Linked DNA regions of Homo sapiens: region 2 is linked to region 1. Evidence: promoter capture Hi-C in 16 types of primary human blood cells and fetal thymus (Javierre and others, 2016). All regions are on one chromosome and are shown on one strand. The core of a region is centred on a gene start or on the middle of the fragment in contact, and the rest is flanking DNA. Distances in the headings are between cores, read along the strand shown. Region 1 holds the start of ODAD2 (outer dynein arm docking complex subunit 2). Region 2 holds the start of MPP7 (MAGUK p55 scaffold protein 7).

What was found. Contacts are between HindIII fragments. The CHiCAGO score rates a contact against its expected background, and 5 or more counts as called.
Region 2: a contact is called between the fragment with the promoter of MPP7 here and the fragment with the promoter of ODAD2 in region 1, in 5 of 17 cell types (endothelial precursors, naive CD8 T cells, M2 macrophages and 2 more). The highest score is 8.4, in endothelial precursors.

What each region holds. Positions count from the first base shown.
Region 1 is chr10:27,996,308-28,000,430 of GRCh38, reverse strand. It overlaps ODAD2 (outer dynein arm docking complex subunit 2), which reads left to right and starts at 1,352. Exons shown (of 20, transcript NM_018076.5): 1 at 1,352-1,437. The HindIII fragment of the contact is 2,296 bases long and covers 91-2,386 here.
Region 2 is chr10:28,301,072-28,305,125 of GRCh38, reverse strand. MPP7 (MAGUK p55 scaffold protein 7) reads left to right here and starts at 2,062. Exons shown (of 17, transcript NM_001318170.2): 1 at 2,062-2,265. MPP7-DT (MPP7 divergent transcript) reads right to left here and starts at 1,957. Exons shown (of 2, transcript XR_930772.3): 1 at 697-1,957. RefSeq lists a silencer at 1,876-2,515. The HindIII fragment of the contact is 2,637 bases long and covers 1,144-3,780 here.

The sequences.
Region 1 (4,123 bases), core at 103-2,602:
GTCTCAGACTGTAATCCACCCATTTTTAAAAGGGCTTCTCTGTATACCTATTAGCATAAGCCCCTTTCTCACTGGTTGCAAGTCTAAGCTTCTCTGCAGGTAGTATCTCCTTTAGGTGAAACTATTCCATTCCTAACAACTTTCGCACTTTCAAAAAGAGAAGAAAAGAACCCAAAACAGGCCAGGCATGGTGGCTCATGCCTGTAATCCTAGCACTTTGGGAGGCCGAGGTGGGTGGATCACTTGAGGTCAGGAGTTCAAGACCCACCTGGCCAACATGGTGAAACTTCGTCTCTACTAAAAGTACAAAAATTAGCCGGGCATGGCGGCGCATTCTTGTAATCCCAGCTACTCAGGAAGCTGAGGGGGGAGGATCTCTTGAACCCGGGAGGCAGAGGTTGCGGTGAGCCGAGATGGGAGGCAGAGGTTGCGGTGAGCCGAGATCGTGCCACTGCACTCCAGCCTGGGTGATAGAGCCAGACTTCGTCCCCCACCCTCCAAAAAACCCAAAACAAAGGACAAATATCTATACCTCATATCCCTACGTGTTTGCAGAAAGGTTCTGCTTTGAGCTGAATCCGTATAATATTATGACAGGTGATATCCTAACATCATTCCACATTTGCCTCTTTGGCATCCGGAAAAGAATCCAGTTTTAATTCCTAAACACCCCATCATCCTAAGTGCTCCGGCATTGGTCCTTAAACACCGTGTCCCCCCACCCCAAGATAGTGCATTCTTCCCCATCCCCCCCCACCTCAATATTCCCACTCCTTTATCCCTCACTGGTGTTCCAGTTGGGGCTCTTGCTGGTAGGGTGTCTAGAGGTGGGGTCAAAACCATCTTAATGGACAAAGGTAAAGGCCATTTAAAAAAAGAGATGGGGGACATGTTTTCATTTCACTCCGATCCTCTGCCCTATTGAAGAGCGCTTTCTGCTTTCCCGGTGAGTATCAGAGTATTCTACCATATTTGTTTTTTTGGAGAGAAACATGTAAGCCTCAAATATCCTAGGAGAAGCCCTATGCTATTTGGGGGTACTCAGTGAAGATTTCAGGTACATACAACGCACTTGTCTGGAAGCCTATGGAAAAATGTAAAAAGGGGTTTCTAAGGAATATTTTCTGCTTCCTTTCTGCTCCATTTTAAGTTTTCTGCTAACTTGCCGCCGACCCCGCAACTGCTCACGACCTCTGTCAAAGTCAACCTTTCCCACCGCGTGGAGTGAGTTAGGGTGCACACTCGGGAGTTGCATAAAAGTGTTTGAGAAAGGGAGATGCAAAGTTGAATAAAAGTGTTTCCCGGGAGGGGCCGAGCGGAAAGCAGCAGGTGGCCGGGGCGGGTGGAACCCAGCGCGGGCGCAGAGCGTCTCTGGCGCGGGCATACGGTGCAACGGGTCCGCGGGAATCTTGGATGCGCGGAGGTCCCGAGACCAGGGTAACGGACTGGGCTGCGGTCGCGGCCGGGTGAGGCTGGGAGCGGAAGGCGGCGGCGGCGGCGCCCGGGGGAGGGCACGGGCCCTGTAGGCCTCCCACAAGGGCGCCGGCGTGCGCGGCCGCAGGGCGCGCAGTGTTGACCCGCGTCCTAGCAACAGGCGGGCGCCGACTGCGGGGGGCAGGGTGCTGCAGGTGAGTGCGGCTGGGGGTCTCCACGCTCACCCCCGCAGGGGTTCTGCAGCCGCCCGCGTGGATCGGGAAACAGAGGCGGCTCTCTGGCCCCGCCGCTGCCGCTCTCGCCTGCTCCCCTTTCCCTCCCGGGGACCAAGACCCGCCCCCTTCCCTTCTCTCTCCCAGCCCCATCTCACTCCTTCCTCCCCGCGAGACCCTGCCTCGGCCCTAGGTTGGGGACCGTCTGCTCCTCAGTCCCTGCGCCCCTCTCTGCACTACCTCGGCCCCATCACCTCCCGGATCCGCTCTCCACTTCTCCCGCCGCTTCCCTGCCTCTCCTTCCCCCAGCCCGTCTTTCTCCTCCGCCCTTTGCAGCTCTGCCTCCCGCTCCCAGCGTGGTTTTCGCCGTCCCTTCCCTCCTCGTCCCCTTACCGAATCCATTCCTGGAAACTTAGGGTCTCAGCTCTGACGCCCCCTTCTTGTAACGAGTCTGGTGGGGGCCGTCATCCCACACTAGGCTTAGCTTTGGTTTTACTTAGGGCCCTGTTCATGTCATGTCTAAAAGTTCGATTTTCTGTCGGTCTTACTGAGTAACTTCTGCATTCTCAGAAAGCAGTGTATGCGCGGACTCCCCGTGGATGTTACCAACCACATTTCATAGATCTCAGAGCTGATGGCTGCCTTTCCGTAGCCCCCTAAAGAATTCGGTTGTGCTTCTGTTTAAGTGTTAACGATGTGATTACCGAATGGGTTTCATTTCACTAATGATGCTGGAAGCTTGAAATTGACCTTTAGAAAGAAAAACAATCTGTGGTATCTATTGGATAAAGAGAAAAATGAGTGCTAAGTGATTCCCAGTTTATGTAAACATCCCAGTTTATGTAAACACGTAACCAAAACTTTTTTCCTTTTAATCTTTAAACTTACTTTCTTTACTTCAAAGGTGTGTGCTGTGTATTTACATGGATTCATTTTAACTATGGTTCTTAAGCCAAAAGAGCTTGGCAATGGGCAGAAACCGGGGAGCAACTGGTCTTGATTTTAAAATCTTAGTTTTGAGTTATGCCGACCATTTTTGAACACCATTTATTTATTTATTTATTTTCTAATAACATTGATCTTGCCTTCTGGATTGTCATAGGCCACCCTGAGGTTTTCTTAAACTCACCAACCTTCTTGAATAAAACTTGTGCATTGCTACGGTTCACTAGACTTGGAAATACAATTTGAATAGATTCAAATGTTACATTTCTGTCAAAATTTATCTTGACGAAAATAACGATTTTGCATTTCTTAATTCTGTGTTAAGGGTCCTTCAAGAAGTTACTATATGGTATGTTGACTACCATAGCGTTACATAATCTATTTAATTTCGCATTTTTTCTTTAAAAATGTGCAAGAAGCAATCTTTATAAGATTACCAAAACAAATGTTATACTTAAGATTAAAGACAGACAGAACTTTCACCTAAGCCTTTCTGTATAAGATAAAGCTATTTGCACTTATTTCACACTATTTTACACTGATTTGCACTTATTTTACACAACAATGGGAAATTCAAGAGTCTCACACATACACATCAGAACATGTTTATGTGTTTAAATCTAAAGCATTTCTCATCGGTTAGCAATAGAAACAAAATGCTAGAATACTAAAACAAACACCCAGAACAAATTTGTGCACTAATTTCTGCACTTTATTTCATGACCACTTTGGTATATATGTCTGGATCAGTTGTTCTCCACCCTATCTGATCCAGTACTTGGTTTTTATAGCATATATGTTGTAAGGCTGCTTTGCTATCCTGAAATCAATATCATAGATTATAATCTTACATATTTAATATAGTTTTAAATATTGATAGTGTGCTAACTGTAAAATGAAAGAAAATAATTGTAAGAAAAGATTGGCATGTAAACGCTCAAGTACCACTACACTAGAATATATAGGGAAGTAGTCAGATGTCCAGCCTTACACAGAATGACTGTGAACACAGCAGCCCCAAATGCAGACTGATACAGATGTGCCATTGCAACTTAAATTTCTCAAATAACATTGCCATCAATGGTGTCATTTTCCAAAATGCTGAGCTCTTGGTAAAATTCCATGTAAAACAAAATATGTACAACCTTCTTTTCGTTTATGGTAGCTACAATTCTGGAAAATTCAGGGTGTAATAAAACTGTGACAAAATACTCTGCAATTTTTGCAAAGTGCAGAAAAATTCTAGGCTCAGGTAGTGCTTATCTGAAGTTTTTCACTTACTAGATGCCTGGAGGTTACAGCAGAATTCTTCCTTCTGAGGTACTATCCTGCACAGGATATTTTACATTGTCGGTCCTCAACACTAAAGGCCGATAATGCCCCCTTTCCTATCATGTTGATAACTAGACATCTCTATAATATTTCTATACTCTTTATCAGCAGGAAGTACTGCCCTGTTGCCATCCAGTGATCTCCTGTGATTGAATTTAATAGATAGTTCAAAGATTTAATACAGTACAGAATGTAAAATC
Region 2 (4,054 bases), core at 813-3,312, 300 kb before region 1:
ATTTAGGTGGTGCCTCAAATCTTAGAGCATTTCTCTTAGATCATTTCTCCTTAAAGCATTTTTCTCCTTTCCCAAAATTAAGTGTGTCTCCCATCCCTCTGGTCACTGTTTTCTTCTTTGCCCTGATCCCGGTCTGGAAGTTTATCTTTTTATTGGATCATTGTCCATCTTCTGATAAAAACAGCTGCAAGTCTGTCTTGTTCAAGGCTATACTCTGAGTGCTTAGTAGAAAGCCTCGTTCATTGCAGTATCTAGTATTTGATGATTAATATTGATTACGTTTGATGAGTAAATGAATAAAAGAATAATCTTAGACATACATTATTTAATCCCAGTGAAAGAATGTTAGTGATGGAATTTCAGGTGTTATTGTAGAAGAAACTTTTGAAGGGTATTCCCTACAGTTTGTTCATACTAGGCTAAGTTCCTCTTCTTTTCCTTACACAATGTAAAAATATTAGATCTCAAAACTATTTGCTCAAAGTACTTACTTTAGGACACGTATTTTTAGACTACAGTTTAGAATTACAGTTATTATTAGAAAGGTTTGGTAAAAACTCTTTTTGTTAGGCAATAAGGTTATTCTGTCCTCCAAAGACCTTTACTTTATTCTCAGGAAGTAAGAGAGAAAAAAGAATTTCTTGTCTTCTTTCTATCAGGTGTTTTGCCCTTACTTCTCTTTAAGTTTATGTTTACCTTAACATTCCTTTCCTTCCTCAGGTTTGCTTTTTGTCTATCTCCATTTTTCACTATTACGTAATTCACGGAGTTGCTGGGGGGAAGTGCTTAATTTCAAATAGCCTGTTTTAGAACTTTGCGAGAATGACAAGAACAAACAGAATGTTAAGGCAGCTAGAGAGAGTTAAGTGAGAGTGGTCCCTAGGTGAGAAATGCTTCTTGCCTTCTAGGCTGACACCAGTTCTGGGGGATGTGTTCTGAGAGCTCATATTAACTGCAGGTCATTGATCCTTATCTCAATCCCCTTCCTCTCCCTTCAGCTTTCCATTCAAAGTCTCTATCACATCTTGAAGTGTTGTCACATTATTTTTTTTCTGATGATTCCCTCCATCAGCTGAGCTTTCCAATTTATATTACCTGATTTTTTTTTGTCTTCTGCTTTTTACTACCCCTTTTTCTAAAGCTTTATTGATTGTGTACTTTGGATTCTAATTCTTCCTATAAGAGTCTTCCTGTAATTCTGTTTGCAGTGTAGTGCTGTCCACATTATGTGTTGGTTACATGATAGGAAGGAGTATGGGGGCACCTCGGTCACATATGTAAAGTTCTTTAAGAGAGCTGAAGGGCGCTGATACCAGTTCATGTTTTTTCGGGGTAGCCCTCAGATATTAAGCATGTTTACTGTATTTTCTTCTATTGTGAAAGAATCAGTTCTCTGGATTTCCTTAAAGTTTGTCTTTACCATTCTCCGCACCCTACTCATTTTTCTATTTAAGAATTTTTTTTTCTAATCATGTAGTACATGTTCAATATGGAACACAAAAAGGTAATAAGAAAAAGTCACCTACAGTGTCGCCAAAGGTGAAAACACCTTATGTCTTTTTTCGTGCATAACAATATCCCTCTCAATCTTATGCAGCATTTTTAAACCTAGGAGACTTGTCTGAATCCAAAGGAAGTTAAAGATTACGTTATTCACCAAGTTCATACTGAAATCAGAGAATCGCAGCGGCTTAAGAAAACTCGCATCTGGCGAATGAACCTGCGTATCCGGGGTTCTCCTCAGGGAGGTTGCTCGTCCATGAAACACACTCCAGTCTGCAGCCACCTGGGAGTGGGAACCAAGGGCGAGCGAACCGGGCGGGCAGGGGTGGAACTTGCGGGGACTGCGGGTATGAGGAGGAGCTACAGAGCTGTCACCAATCAGAGCCCAGCTTTGTTTTCTCTTGCCGACCAATGAGGGAGTTCTGCTGGAGAGGCGTCTTCAAGTCTGAGACGCCTATCGCCTTCGCAGCCTATCAGCAGGCCCCTCTTACCCGCGGGCGGTGCAGCCCCGCCCCGCCCCTCCAACCGCGGTCCCGCCCCTCCGAGGGTGGGGGCCGTGTTGGTTACTAGCCGGGCTGGAGGCGGGGGCCGGGCTCCCACTGGGCTCGTGCGTTCTGCGCCCGCCGCGGCGGTGCCGAGCCCGCTGGCTCCCGATTGTCCTCTGCGGCGGTGGCGGTCGCTGCCTCCTTGCCTCCGGGCCCGGGGCTGCAGGGGCCAGAGCGAGTGCGCCTCCTGCCCGCGGACCGCGGCAGCCCAGAGCAGGTAATGGGGCGCCTCTGGGGAGCGCCTGTCGGAGCCCAGGGCTAGGCTCGGGCGGTGGGGTCGGCCCCCGAAGCTGCTCCCTGCGCCGGCGACCGGGCCGAGCGGTGCCGCGGTCCTCCGGAGCCTCCTGCCGGCCTCTAGGCGCCTCAGCCTGGGAGCCCGCGGCGGGCACCTTGTGAGGAGGTGGGGGCGGGGCCGGGGCAGGGGCGGGGCCGCCTCGGGCGGGACCCTGAGGACCCCTGGAGACCCCTGTTGACGCGCGGGACTCCGGGCGGGGGCGGCGGCGGGGCAGACCCAGAGCGGGGAGAACCGACAGGTGGAGGAAAAACTGCGGAGTTGAGTCAGAGTCCGGCTCCCCGGGGAAAAGAACCGACTGAAAGGGAGCGATAAGCTGGCTGGCTTCTTTTTTTTCTTTCCCTAAGCCAGAAAGGCGTCTTCACTTGGGTCGTGTTAATTACATGTTTTCTGAGAACAGGCGTTTGGCCGTGTAATCTACACGATAGCATTATTTATTTACTTATTTGCTATTTAAAAAATTAAAAGCAGCATTTAGCGTGAATCTATTTGGGGGCTTTTTCTTAAGTGACAGGTAGACCCAGCCGAGTAACTCAGCTTTGTCTGGGCTGAAGTGGGGAGCGGTGAGGTAGGAATGAGGGGGAGGAGTGTTCGTGAGGAATGCCTGTGCAGGTTTGAAAGGATTGTGGGGGTGGGACCTTGTTTCTGTCACTGTGCCATGGGTGGGAGTAGAATTGTGATTTTTTTCTTTTTCTAATTTTTAAAAGCAATATTCACATTTAAAAAAGGGGGGGCTCTCTAAAAACAGTCTCTGTACTCGAGGCTTTGGGGATGCACCTGCTAGTCAGGCAGTAATAGTTTGCAGGTAAATCCTGGGCTATTAATTACGTAATTTGATTTACTTATAAAGAAGTATCTTGAATTGTTGCTGCCTTTCCTTTGACTTGCTCAATATATTGCTTGTTTACAAGTGAATTGATGAAGGTCACTGAGTTTTAGCGGTAATGTCACAGCGATGGCCCTTGGAGAGTTTTCTATGCTCAGGTTCACTCTGGTTCTATAAAAACAGTATTTCCATTTAATCGTGAAGCTCATAGCACTCTATCAATTATATAGTATGCCATCCTCCTACTCTTCTGAGGCAGGCTGTGCATAGCATGTCCATTTTACAGGTATGTCAACTGAAAGCCCTAGAAATGAAAGGAATCCTGCCCCACTTTACTCCTACTTTATTTTATACCTATAATGGATTTAATCCAAAATCTGGGTAAGATTCCCGCCATCAAGCCAACTTCTGCATACCAATTTGATCCCGTATACACAGGTCAGAGGTGGAGATGGTTATTTTCAAGTAAAGAAATATTATCTGCGAGGTTTTTCTTTCCATTCAGGTTGCTTAGCTAGTTTGAATTTCAGGTGAAAGGTAATTTTCCACACAGGCAAAACAAACAAAAGTTAGGAATGCTGTGTGAAAATCTCTATTTTAAATTTTGGGAAGCTTTCCAAATTAGAGAACCTTATTTGTGTTTGCATCTCTAGCTCAGCATTGAATTTCGGTACCTTTTTTTGAATTGAATAGAAATAATTGATATGCAGAAGGAAAATACTAATGAAGTGTAATGCATTTTGATCATGACTTATGACTTTGTTTCGGGAAGTGTTTACTGTAAATTTATAGACGGATTGAAGAATAATTTCTTAATTAGAATAACTTGACCAAAGGAGTTTGGGCATTAGTGTGGGACAGGCTGAAATGGGTAGTTGGGAGTAGCCG